2 separate regions of the Homo sapiens genome follow, and region 2 is linked to region 1. The links are contacts of gene promoters, found by promoter capture Hi-C in human tissues and cell types (Jung and others, 2019). All regions are on one chromosome and are shown on one strand. Each heading gives the region's core, a stretch centred on a gene start or on the middle of the fragment in contact. The rest is flanking DNA. Distances are from core to core; before and after follow the strand shown. Region 1 holds the start of ADAMTS2 (ADAM metallopeptidase with thrombospondin type 1 motif 2). Region 2 has its middle 39 kb from the start of ADAMTS2.

Region 1 (5,008 bases), core at 1,016-3,515:
TTCAGTGTCCAGGAGACAAATTCTTTCCCCCAAAAATATCCCAAAGCAAGTATCCCAAAGTATACAAAATAATTTAGCTCTGTGAACCTGTTAGAAGATGCCATCAACTCATAAAGTCAGAGTTACTCCTTTTCAGGCCTCCTTTCATCCTTCCAATCACATCAGAACAACGACCTCTGTGCTAGTCCATCTTAAGGCTTTTGTAACACTTACTAATCAGCTTCAGCCTTCGGTATCTTTAGCAGGTCAAAGTATCTGGAATTTGATAACATTTCTCTTCTTGTTGTATTTATTTTTAGCAATTATCTTTGATTTATGGAAACATGGTGAGATGCTGGCTTTTCCATTTATAGTAGTGATTTAAAGTATCCTTTAAAAAATTGAAAAAAGTTTTAGGCGCTGTGTAAAGAAATACCCAACCATAGACACGGCAGGAAGGTGCAGAACATGCCCCTTGAAGTAGGGGCGGCTGCTGGTTGGGTTTCACTCGTGTTTCGAAGAGGATGGAAGCGCTGACAACCACAGGAGGAATGCGTCATGGGTTCCAGGACAGCAACTGGCTGGACCCAACTCTGGGCTGCCTAGCTCCCCCAGCCTTCACAATTCAACTCATGCCACCTCTTACAGGAAGTCCTCCTGGATGCCCAGCTCTGGAGTCATCTCTGTGGTATACTAGGATTCCAGTTCCAACTTTCTCTGGAACCAGTTGGGTCATCACAGGTCACGAGAGCAGATGCCTACAGAGAGTGAGGAGAGGCGGGACCTGCCACAAACTGCAAGGTAAGTGCCCATTTAATGGTTGCTAAGCAGGACTGTGGGGCTAGCGTGGCCACATCTTCCAATATCTCAAGAAAAGTTACCAATCTAAATTTCCATGTGACATCTCACCATGCCTGGGAGCTGGATCCAGCCTCGGGCACCCTTAGGTGACACAGAAAGAGTACAGCTTGCAGGTGAAGATGGCTGTCCAGCTGCGATGCTCTCACACCCAGGACCCACAATCGAAAGAACCAAGGACGTGAGATCACAGTTAGAGCCTGCTGTGTAAGTCGTGTTTCCCCCAACGACTGGGACCTCCTGGCCAGCAGGGAGAGGCCTGAGTCATCTCCGGGTCCTCTGCCCCTGGCCAAAGCAAAGACCAAAGCCCTGGCCACACAGACCTGGGGCAGGGCAAATGAGAAAATCAAAGGGGTGGGTGTTCACCCTCTGGGGAAGTGAGGCAGAAATTGGGGGTCCCAGGGCAGAGATGATCAACAGCCTGAGAGGGGGCTCTCAGGCAGGCCCTGGAGAGAGGCCGCTGAGCTCAGACAGCATGGGAGGATCAGGGCCTTGCTGGAGAGGAGGGACTGGGGAGGGGTTCCGGTTGGCAACGGGCTCTAACAGCAAACTGGCCCCAGAATGGGCCCAGGTGTCCTTGGATGCTTGGGTGGAAAAGGTAGGCAGAGCTTGGAGAGGCCATTTCAGGTTGGGGGCCGGGAGTGCAATGGCGGGAGGACAGAATGCATACGTGGGGTTGAGGACAGGTGAGGGCAGGAGCCTGACTGTGCTCATGGGCAGAGAGCCCAGGTCTGGCAGGAAGAGGCTGTGCTGAGGCTGCAGCGGAGGGATGGGAAGGCAGATGGGGGACAGGGGACAGGGACTTCAGAGGAAGAGGAACTGGGGACTGAAGGAGCCTTGCCTCTCTCAGTAAGGGCAAAAGTTGATCTTTGGGGTCGCGCCCTGGGTGTACCCTCCTAACAGCATCTTCTGGCCTTTGCGGCCTCTATTTGGGCATTCGGCCTGGCTCAGACCTTGGACCCAGTAGTCAGTCCCCCCTCCCCTTTCATTCCCTCACCCTGTCCTGCCCCAGAGCACAGAGACAGGGGGATGCACCCCTTGAATTCCAGGGCTGATGGGTGGGACCCGGCACCCCAAGGGCTCTCTAGGTGGGGACGTTCGGCCGGCGCCGCTCCTCGGAGGTTGTGCCCCTGGGGTGGCTGGCGGCGGGGCTCCCCCGGCCCGGCCCGCGGCGCTTCTCTGCCGCCGCCTCGGGGTGTCTCTGCTTCGCTGCGAGCCCGGCACCGCGGCGACGGCGGCGCGAAGAGGGAAGCGGGCGGCGGCGGCGGCCGCGCCAAGATGCGCCGGGTCACCGCAGGCTGAGGCGCCCGCCGTCCCCGCCCTCCCCCTCGCTCGCCTCCCTCCCTCCCGCCTGCCTCCCTCGCTCGCTCGCTCCTTCCCTCTCCCCGCCTTCCCTCCGCGCTCCCCCGCCCGCCCCTCCGCGCCTCGCCTCCTCCGCCCCGCGCCCTGCGGTGCTGCAGCTGCGGGCGGCTCCAGCTGCCCCCAGATGTGGGCTGGGCGGCTCGCGGGGAACTTTCGCGCCGGCTGCGAGTGCGGGGCCCCGGCTGCAGTCCGGCTGCCATGGATCCGCCGGCGGGAGCCGCTCGCCGCCTGCTCTGCCCCGCGCTGCTGCTGCTGCTGCTGCTGCTGCCGCCGCCGCTCCTGCCGCCGCCGCCGCCGCCCGCGAACGCCAGGCTCGCCGCCGCCGCCGACCCCCCAGGTAGGTGCGGCCCGGCCCCTACTCCCCGGGACCCCCGCCGGCCTGGCCCTGTCCCGCGTGCCCCGCCGCCCCCTCCCCAGGCGTCGTCCAGCCTGACTTGGGCAAACTCCGCGCGCCCCGCCCGGGGCCAAGTTGGCCAACTTCGGGGCCGGGTTGGTCGCGCAGGGGGCGCCCCGCACCGCCCCCGAGCGCCTTGGGCCGGGGGAGCCTCGGAGCACTGGCGGCTCCTGAGTCGCGGAGGGTGGGGACGGAGGGCCGGGAAAAGCCCCGCGGCCAAGAGCGCAGAGTCAGCCCCAGCGGGTCCGAGGGGGGAGCCAGGGCGAGGCGGCGCCGGGGCTCGCGTCCGGGGACGCTCCGGAGGAGCCGGCTGCCGAGCGCGTAGCCTTGGGCCCTAAGGATTGGTTGGGGCGCCCCGCAGGGAATCCCCGGAGATCGGAGGGACCCTGTTCCACCCCTCCCAGTCCTCGGGCGCTCGGGGAGACGGGGCCGGCAGCGGGCTGAGCGGGAGCTGGACAGGCAGGACAGGCCGCTCGTGCTCGGGGAAGCCGAGACTCCGCCGCTCCGGAGGCTGGCGGTGAGGGCACTCGGGCGGCAGGGGCCCGCCGAGGGGTCGTGGCACACGGGTAAGGGGGCCAACCCGGAATGGCTTCCGAGCAGCTCCACGTCCTGCCAAGGACGGTAGGTGCAAGGGTCGGGGGACTCTCTGACGGGGTCGTCCCTTCGGGCACGGGGAGGTTCCCACCGAGCCCCAACCCTGAACGGGGCAGGGGGCAGAGCTCTTGGCAGGCAAGGTCTCCGGAGGAGGGAACGGCTGGGGAGTGGCGGAGCCCCGGAGTGGTGGCCCTGTTAACGCCCCTTCCCGGTTGCAGGAAAGCCGGGGAGGTGCAGGCTGGCTTCTGGGGTCGCCTGGCGGAATGCCCCTTCCCTTCGCAGTGGGGCGGGGTCTGGGGGGGCGTGGCTTGCCGGCGGGTCTCTGAGGCACTGGGGCTCCGTGGTCTCCGCCGATCTAACGCCCCTTCCCGTTGCAGGCGGGCCCCTGGGGCACGGAGCGGAGCGCATCCTGGCGGTGCCCGTGCGCACTGACGCCCAGGGCCGCTTGGTGTCCCACGTGGTGTCGGCAGCTACGTCCAGAGCAGGGGTACGAGCCCGCAGGGCCGCCCCGGTCCGGACCCCGAGCTTCCCCGGAGGCAACGAGGAGGAGCCTGGCAGTCACCTCTTCTACAATGTCACGGTCTTTGGCCGAGACCTGCACCTGCGGCTGCGGCCCAACGCCCGCCTCGTGGCGCCCGGGGCCACTATGGAGTGGCAGGGCGAGAAGGGCACCACCCGCGTGGAGCCCCTGCTCGGGAGCTGTCTCTACGTCGGAGACGTGGCCGGCCTAGCCGAAGCCTCCTCTGTGGCGCTCAGCAACTGCGATGGGCTGGTGAGTACGCACTTCTCTAGCTCCTTTCTCTCCGCTGCTCTCGCCTGGGTTTTGGAAAAGGGTTACCTGGGAGTCCCTTGGGAGGGCAAGGCCTGCGCTGAGGACTTTCCGCGCCCTTCCCGTGCTTTAGTGAGCCTCGTGCTCCAACTGAAGGGCTTGGCTGGAAAGCAGGTTGTTTTGACTGGTCTGAGCAGGGGGCCATTTATGCATGGGGAGCGCCCGGGTCTCCAAAAGGCTCAGCAGGCAGGAGCGTGCGCCTCTCTCTTTTGCCTGCCTGAACAGGTCTCTGGCTTGCATCCGGGGGTGGGTCCGTGTATGTGTGTGTACCTTTGTGAGTGTGTGCACATGTGTTGTGGAACGTTGGTGTGTACCTGCATCTGGGTGCCCGTGCACCTGTGTGAACATGTGCGTGTGCCAGTGTCTCTTGTGCACGTATGTGTCTGGGTTTCTGCACATCAGTGTGTTGAGCATCTGTTGAGTTTGTGTCCGTCCTTGTGCATACTGGCGTGATATGTGTGTGGTGGACTTATGGGCTGGCAGTCAGTCTTCCTGTTTCCTTGCGTGCGGGTAATACCAGCCCAGGGAGCTGGCAGTGATGCTGAAATGCCCAGTTAGCCCTCTGCCCCTTGGCTGACCGGGAATCATTGGTTTTTCTGCTGTGGTTTCCTGTTGAACTCCAGCTGGTTCTTTGAAAAGTTGGTTTTCTCTATTTTGAGCTGAGGGGTGCATTTGGAAATGAAGGCTCTAGTGCCCATGAGCTGCTCGATCTTTTGGGGGCAGCGCCTGAAGGACAAGAGAGAGGCTAGGGGATCCCTTTTGAGACTGCCTGCGCCTCTCTAGTCCTGTGACTGGAGCTCTGGGAAGCTCTGCTTCCTGGAGAGGGCAGGAGGGACCGTGGCTCAGCACAAGGGGGCCTCAGAGGAAGCCTGGATCGATGCTGAGGGAGGAGGCTGACATTGGCGGTGCTCTGTCCGGCTGCCCGGGGCCTGGCACACAGCAGAGGCCACTGCAGTTTTCTATTTTGGATTGGGTGTGTGGTGGTCAGGCTG
Region 2 (5,008 bases), core at 1,173-3,672, 39 kb before region 1:
TGAGGTTGCTGTTCTAGGTCCTGTAACAGTGTGGGGCTGGGGGAGAGGCAATGGCTCACCTGAGGCCATGGGGCTCACTGGACTCTGCCCCCTTGGCCACAACCAACAGGCCCTCTCCACCCTAGCAGCCACCTCCCCTCTGCATCAGGCAGAAATGCCCTCTCTTCCTGCAGTCTCATTTTAATTCTCCACACCCAAAGTCTTCTCCACTCCTGCACTGGGTCCCCAGCTAGGCTGAGGGTGGAGCTGGTGGCCCAGGCTGGTTCATTACCATCCTTACCTGACTGGTTACCTTACAGTGTCTACAGTTGGTTCCCTTAGATTTTTTTTTAGCTATTACTGAAAAAAAAGTGCACTCTTGGAAATTTAAATACATATATCTCAGCTTACTGCAACCTCCACCTCCTGAGTTCAAGCAATCCTCCCTGCCTCAGCCTCCCAAGTAGCTGGGATTACAGGCGCCTGCTATCATGCCTGGCTAATTTTTGTATTTTTAGTAGAGATGGGGTTTCACCATGTTGGCCAGGCTGGTCTTGAACTCCTGACCTGAGGTGATCTGCCCGCCTCGGCCTCCCAAAGTGCTGGGATTACACGCATGAGGCACTGTGCCTGGCCAATTTTAAAATATATTTTTAAGAATGCTGATATCAAGTATCTTCATAGATTGAGAAAACCACAGTTTGGTGCTTATATATGACTTTTAAAAACTCTCAGGAAACTAAGAGTAGACAGAAAGTTTCTTAACTTCATAATTGCTACACCCCAAAAGCCGACTGCACCAAGAATCCTGGCGAAGATGAATCTTCTCACTGTGAGCCCACATGGGCCCCACTACTAAGGGGGTGGACTAAGGCTCTGAGGGATGAAAGTGGCAGAAGACCCGTCAGGATCAGAAGGGAAAAGATAGGGCCTCATTCCTTGCAGATGATAACATCACATAAACCCATGGAATCAGCAGGCAAGATAACAGAACTAGCAGGGAGCTTAGGCAAGGCTGCTGGATATGTGGCCAACTCACCGGCCCACCAGCTTCTCTTTACACCCGTGACACAGCCAACTAAAACTAAGTCATGGTGTTTTCTGGACGGTGAACGCAGAGAGTGCTGGGAGGCAGCATGCCCGGGAGGAGAAGCAGGAGCTTCACCACGCCCAGCCCCGCCCTTGCTGTATTAGGCTGTTCTCTCTATTATTCATTCAATTTGGGCACTGGAAAGTACAGACATCTGGCTTCATAGTCTTGTAAGAGAATCAGTACTTACCATACTATTGCTCTTTCAAGTTTTGAAGTAACAGGAGAATTTCCCCTGGACTACAGATTTACACAGCTCTCTTCAAACAATCCACAAACAGCTGGTCTAAACCCTCCACTGGTCTTATCGATGATGAGACACTGGCAGCCAAATAAATTATCTTTACTGAAAAATGGAGTAAAGAAACATATATGGCAAATGTACCACAAAAATGTTAATATTTCAAAAATACTGTGAAGTGCTTCATAGGAACAAGTTATTAATGAAAAGTGACCAATACATTGAAAAAAAGGTCACCATTTGCAATGCTCGAAAACCTAAAACGCACCCTGGAATCCACATAACAAAGAACGCACGTGGTTTTTCTACAAAAATTGAACATTCCAGTAGAGAACATAGCTGGAGTCGTAGGCCGGGCGCGGTGGCTCACGCCTGTAATTCAAACACTTTGGGAGGCCGAGGCGGGCAGATCACGAGGTCAGGAGATTGAGACCATCCTGGCTAACACAGTGAAACCCCGTCTCTACTAAAAATACAAAAAATTAGCCGGGCGTGGTGGCAGGTGCCTATAGTCCCGGCTACTCGGGAGGCTGAGGCAGGAGAATGGCTGGAACCCGAGAGGCGGAGCTTGCAGTGAGCCGAGATCGTGCCACTGCACTCCAGCCAGGGCAACAGAACGAGACTCAGTCTCAAAAAAAAAAAAAAAAAAGAACACAGCTTGAGTCATTATTAAACGAAGAGATACTTTAATGTTACAGGTTCCCAACAGTACCAGATTCACCTATGCATTAAATGTAATCCTGATCAAAATTCCAGCTGGAATTGTCGAGGAGATGAATAAACTCACTGTGAATTTATGTGGAAGGATCAAGGTGTAAGACAAATGCTATAATCTGAATGTTTGTGTTCCCCCAGAATTCACATGCTACCACCTAGTCCCCGCTGTGATGGGATTAGGAAGTGGGGCTAGTAGAAACTAACCCAGTAGAAAAATGGGAAAGGAGAGGTATTTGGGAGGTGATGAGGTCATGAGGGTGCTGCCCTCCCGAATGGGACGAGTGCCCTTATACAAGAGGCCCAGAGAGCTGCCTTGCCTCCTCCACCACGTGGGGACACAGTGAGGAGGGCTATGAGGACGTGGCCTCACCAGACACTGAAACTGCCGGCACCTTGGCCAGGCGCAGTGACTCACTCCTGTAATCCCAGCACTTTGGGAGGCTGAGGCGAGCAGATCACCTGAGATCTGGAGTTCGAGACCAGCCTGCCAACATGGTAAAACCCCATCTCTACTAAAAATACAAAAATTAGCCAGGTGTGATGGCACATGCTTGTAATCCCAGCTACTTGGGAGGCTGAGGCAGGAGAATTGCATGAACCTGGGAGGCAGAGCTTGCAGTGAGCCGAAATCGCGCCACTGCACTCCAGCCTGGGTGACAAAGCAAGACTCTGAAAAAAAAAAAAAAAGTAAAATAAAATAAAATAAAAAGAAACTGCCAGCACCTTGATCTCGGACTTGCCAGCCTCCAGAACTATGAGCAACAATTTTTTGCTGTAGGCTAGGCACAGTTGCTTATATCTGCAATCCCAGAACTTTGGAAGGCCAAGGCAGGCGGATCACTCGAGCCCAGGGGTTGGATACTAGCCTGGGCAACATGGCGAAACCGTGTCTCTACAAAAAAAAAAAAAAAATTAAAAAATTAAAAAATTAGCCAGGCATGATGGGACGTGCTTGTAGTCCCAGCTACTTAAGAGGTTGAGGTGGGAGAATCGCTTGAGCCCAGGACGCCAAGATTGCAGTGAGCAAAGATCGTGCCACTGCACTCCAGCCTGGGCCACAGAGTGAGACTGTCTCAAAAAAAAAAAAAGAAAGAAAAAAAGAAAAATTTCTGTTGTTTATTAGCTAACCTGTTTATGGTACTTTTTAAATAGCAGCTCAAATGGCCTAACACAAAAAACTAAGTCAATTTTGAACCACAGAGCAGAGAAGGGGCAGGGCAACTCCTGAGCAGGCGCCATTGTGTGTTGCAGAGGCCGTGGTCCTGGGAACAGCATAGGCCAGGCGTCAGGACCATGGAACAGAGAGATCAAAACAGACCTGGGGTAGACAGGAACTCGATAAAGGTGGCAGCACAAAGGGAAAGGGCAAGGCTGGTTGTTTAGTGAATGAAGCTGGGAAAACTGGCTCCCTTTGAAGCCGGACTTCCACTTCACCCCAGTATTCCAGGTGGTCCCCAGCTGGATTAAAGGCCTACGGATGGAAGGGAAAGCTTCAGAGCTGATCAGTGAATACTCAGGATAACATCTTTGTGACCTATAGCGGGGGAAAGTTTTCTTAAGCAAAACTCCCCACATGCAAACCTGGGCTGAAAAAAGAATGGATTTGGCTAAATCAAAATCAAGGCTATCTGTTTAGTAAAGAACACCACAGCCCGGCCGGGCGCGGTGGCTCACGCCTGTAATTCCAGCACTTTGGGAGGCTGAGGCGGGCGGATCATGAGGTCGGGAGATCGAGACCGTCCTGGCTAACATGGGGAAACCCTGTCTCTAGTAAAAATACAAAAAATTAATCCGGGCGTGGTGGTGGGCGCCTGTAGTCCCAGCTACTCGGGAGGCTGAGGCAGGAGAATGGCGTGAACCCGGGAGGCGGAGCTTGCAGTGACCTGAGATCGCACGCTGCACTCCAGCCTGGGCGACAGAGTGAGACTCCATCTCAAAAAAAAAAAAAAAAGAACACCACAGCCCCACGCCAACAGAAGGCAGACTGGGAGGAGATGCTTGTGACGCCTACAAATGCTAAGGGATTACTATTAGAATATAGAAAGAGCTCCTGCTGATCAATACCAAGAGACGGGCAACTCAGTAGAGAAATGAGAAAGGAGAGGATGAGGTGGTTTTCAGAAATGGATGCCCAAATGGCTAGCAAGTGTTCGAAGAGACTCAAACACATCCGTGGGCAAAGAAATGCAAATTAAAGCAACAGTGAGATGCCACTGTCCATCCAGCAGGGTGGTGATGTTGAGAAGGTGGGTGGTTCCAAATAGTAACGTGGATGTGTGCCAGAACATCAGGCACAACTGACGGGAACGTTCCTCTGGGCAATTGGGCACCATTTAGCAAGACTGAGTGTGCATGCGCCCTCTGACCCAGCAATGCTAGAGAGGTGATCACAGGATGCCTGAGGGAGTGTGCAGAGCTATGCTTTGTATGTGTGGCATTGATTCTGAGGGCAGGGCTGGAGATGGACTCTGGGTTCACTGCCAGGTTCAAGGTGGATGCAAGCTGCGGTGTACTATGAAATACACAGGGGAGGAAACACTGAATCTGCTGTTCTATAGTTCTACAGACAGAGCTCAAAAGCAACGATACAACAGAAAAGTGAAATGGAAGAGAGTCAGAGCACGACATTGTTTGTGCAAGTCAACAACACGCACGCAGTGGTGCTCCGAGTACTTCACAGGGAAGCATGCGTCTTTAAGGAGACCAGACTTAGAGTAAGCACCTTTAGAGGTCATGGGAGGGATGATATGAGAAGACGGGAAAAATTAAGTAGAAAAAAAGAAGTCAGAGGTGTCTGTGAACACACATCTGTGTTAACAAAAGCTGTGATCCGAGGAGTATGGTTTCAGCACAAATCTCTGCAGCAGAGGTCCAAAGAAATCCATGAATCATCAAGCAAGTTCCAGATTTGCAACTGAATTTACAAGGTCATTTCTTTCTATATGGGGAAGCCATTAAATAAATGTAGATGGGAAAACTGG

What was found. Contacts are between HindIII fragments. The study calls those that stand out against the background at their distance.
Region 2: a fragment that was not itself captured here is called in contact with the fragment with the promoter of ADAMTS2 in region 1 in 1 of the 25 tissues and cell types used here (adrenal gland).

What each region holds. Positions count from the first base shown.
Region 1 is chr5:179,342,718-179,347,725 of GRCh38, reverse strand. ADAMTS2 (ADAM metallopeptidase with thrombospondin type 1 motif 2) reads left to right here and starts at 2,265. Exons shown (of 22, transcript NM_014244.5): 1 at 2,265-2,536; 2 at 3,565-3,959. The coding sequence starts at 2,398. It overlaps LOC105377759 (a long non-coding RNA gene), which reads left to right. Exons shown (of 3, transcript XR_941311.3): 2 at 628-780; 3 at 947-1,365. The HindIII fragment of the contact is 12,907 bases long and covers 1-5,008 here.
Region 2 is chr5:179,382,218-179,387,225 of GRCh38, reverse strand. No RefSeq gene overlaps it. Among named protein-coding and RNA genes, the nearest start is that of ADAMTS2, 39 kb to the right of the region's middle. RefSeq lists an enhancer at 1-226. The HindIII fragment of the contact is 7,295 bases long and covers 1-5,008 here.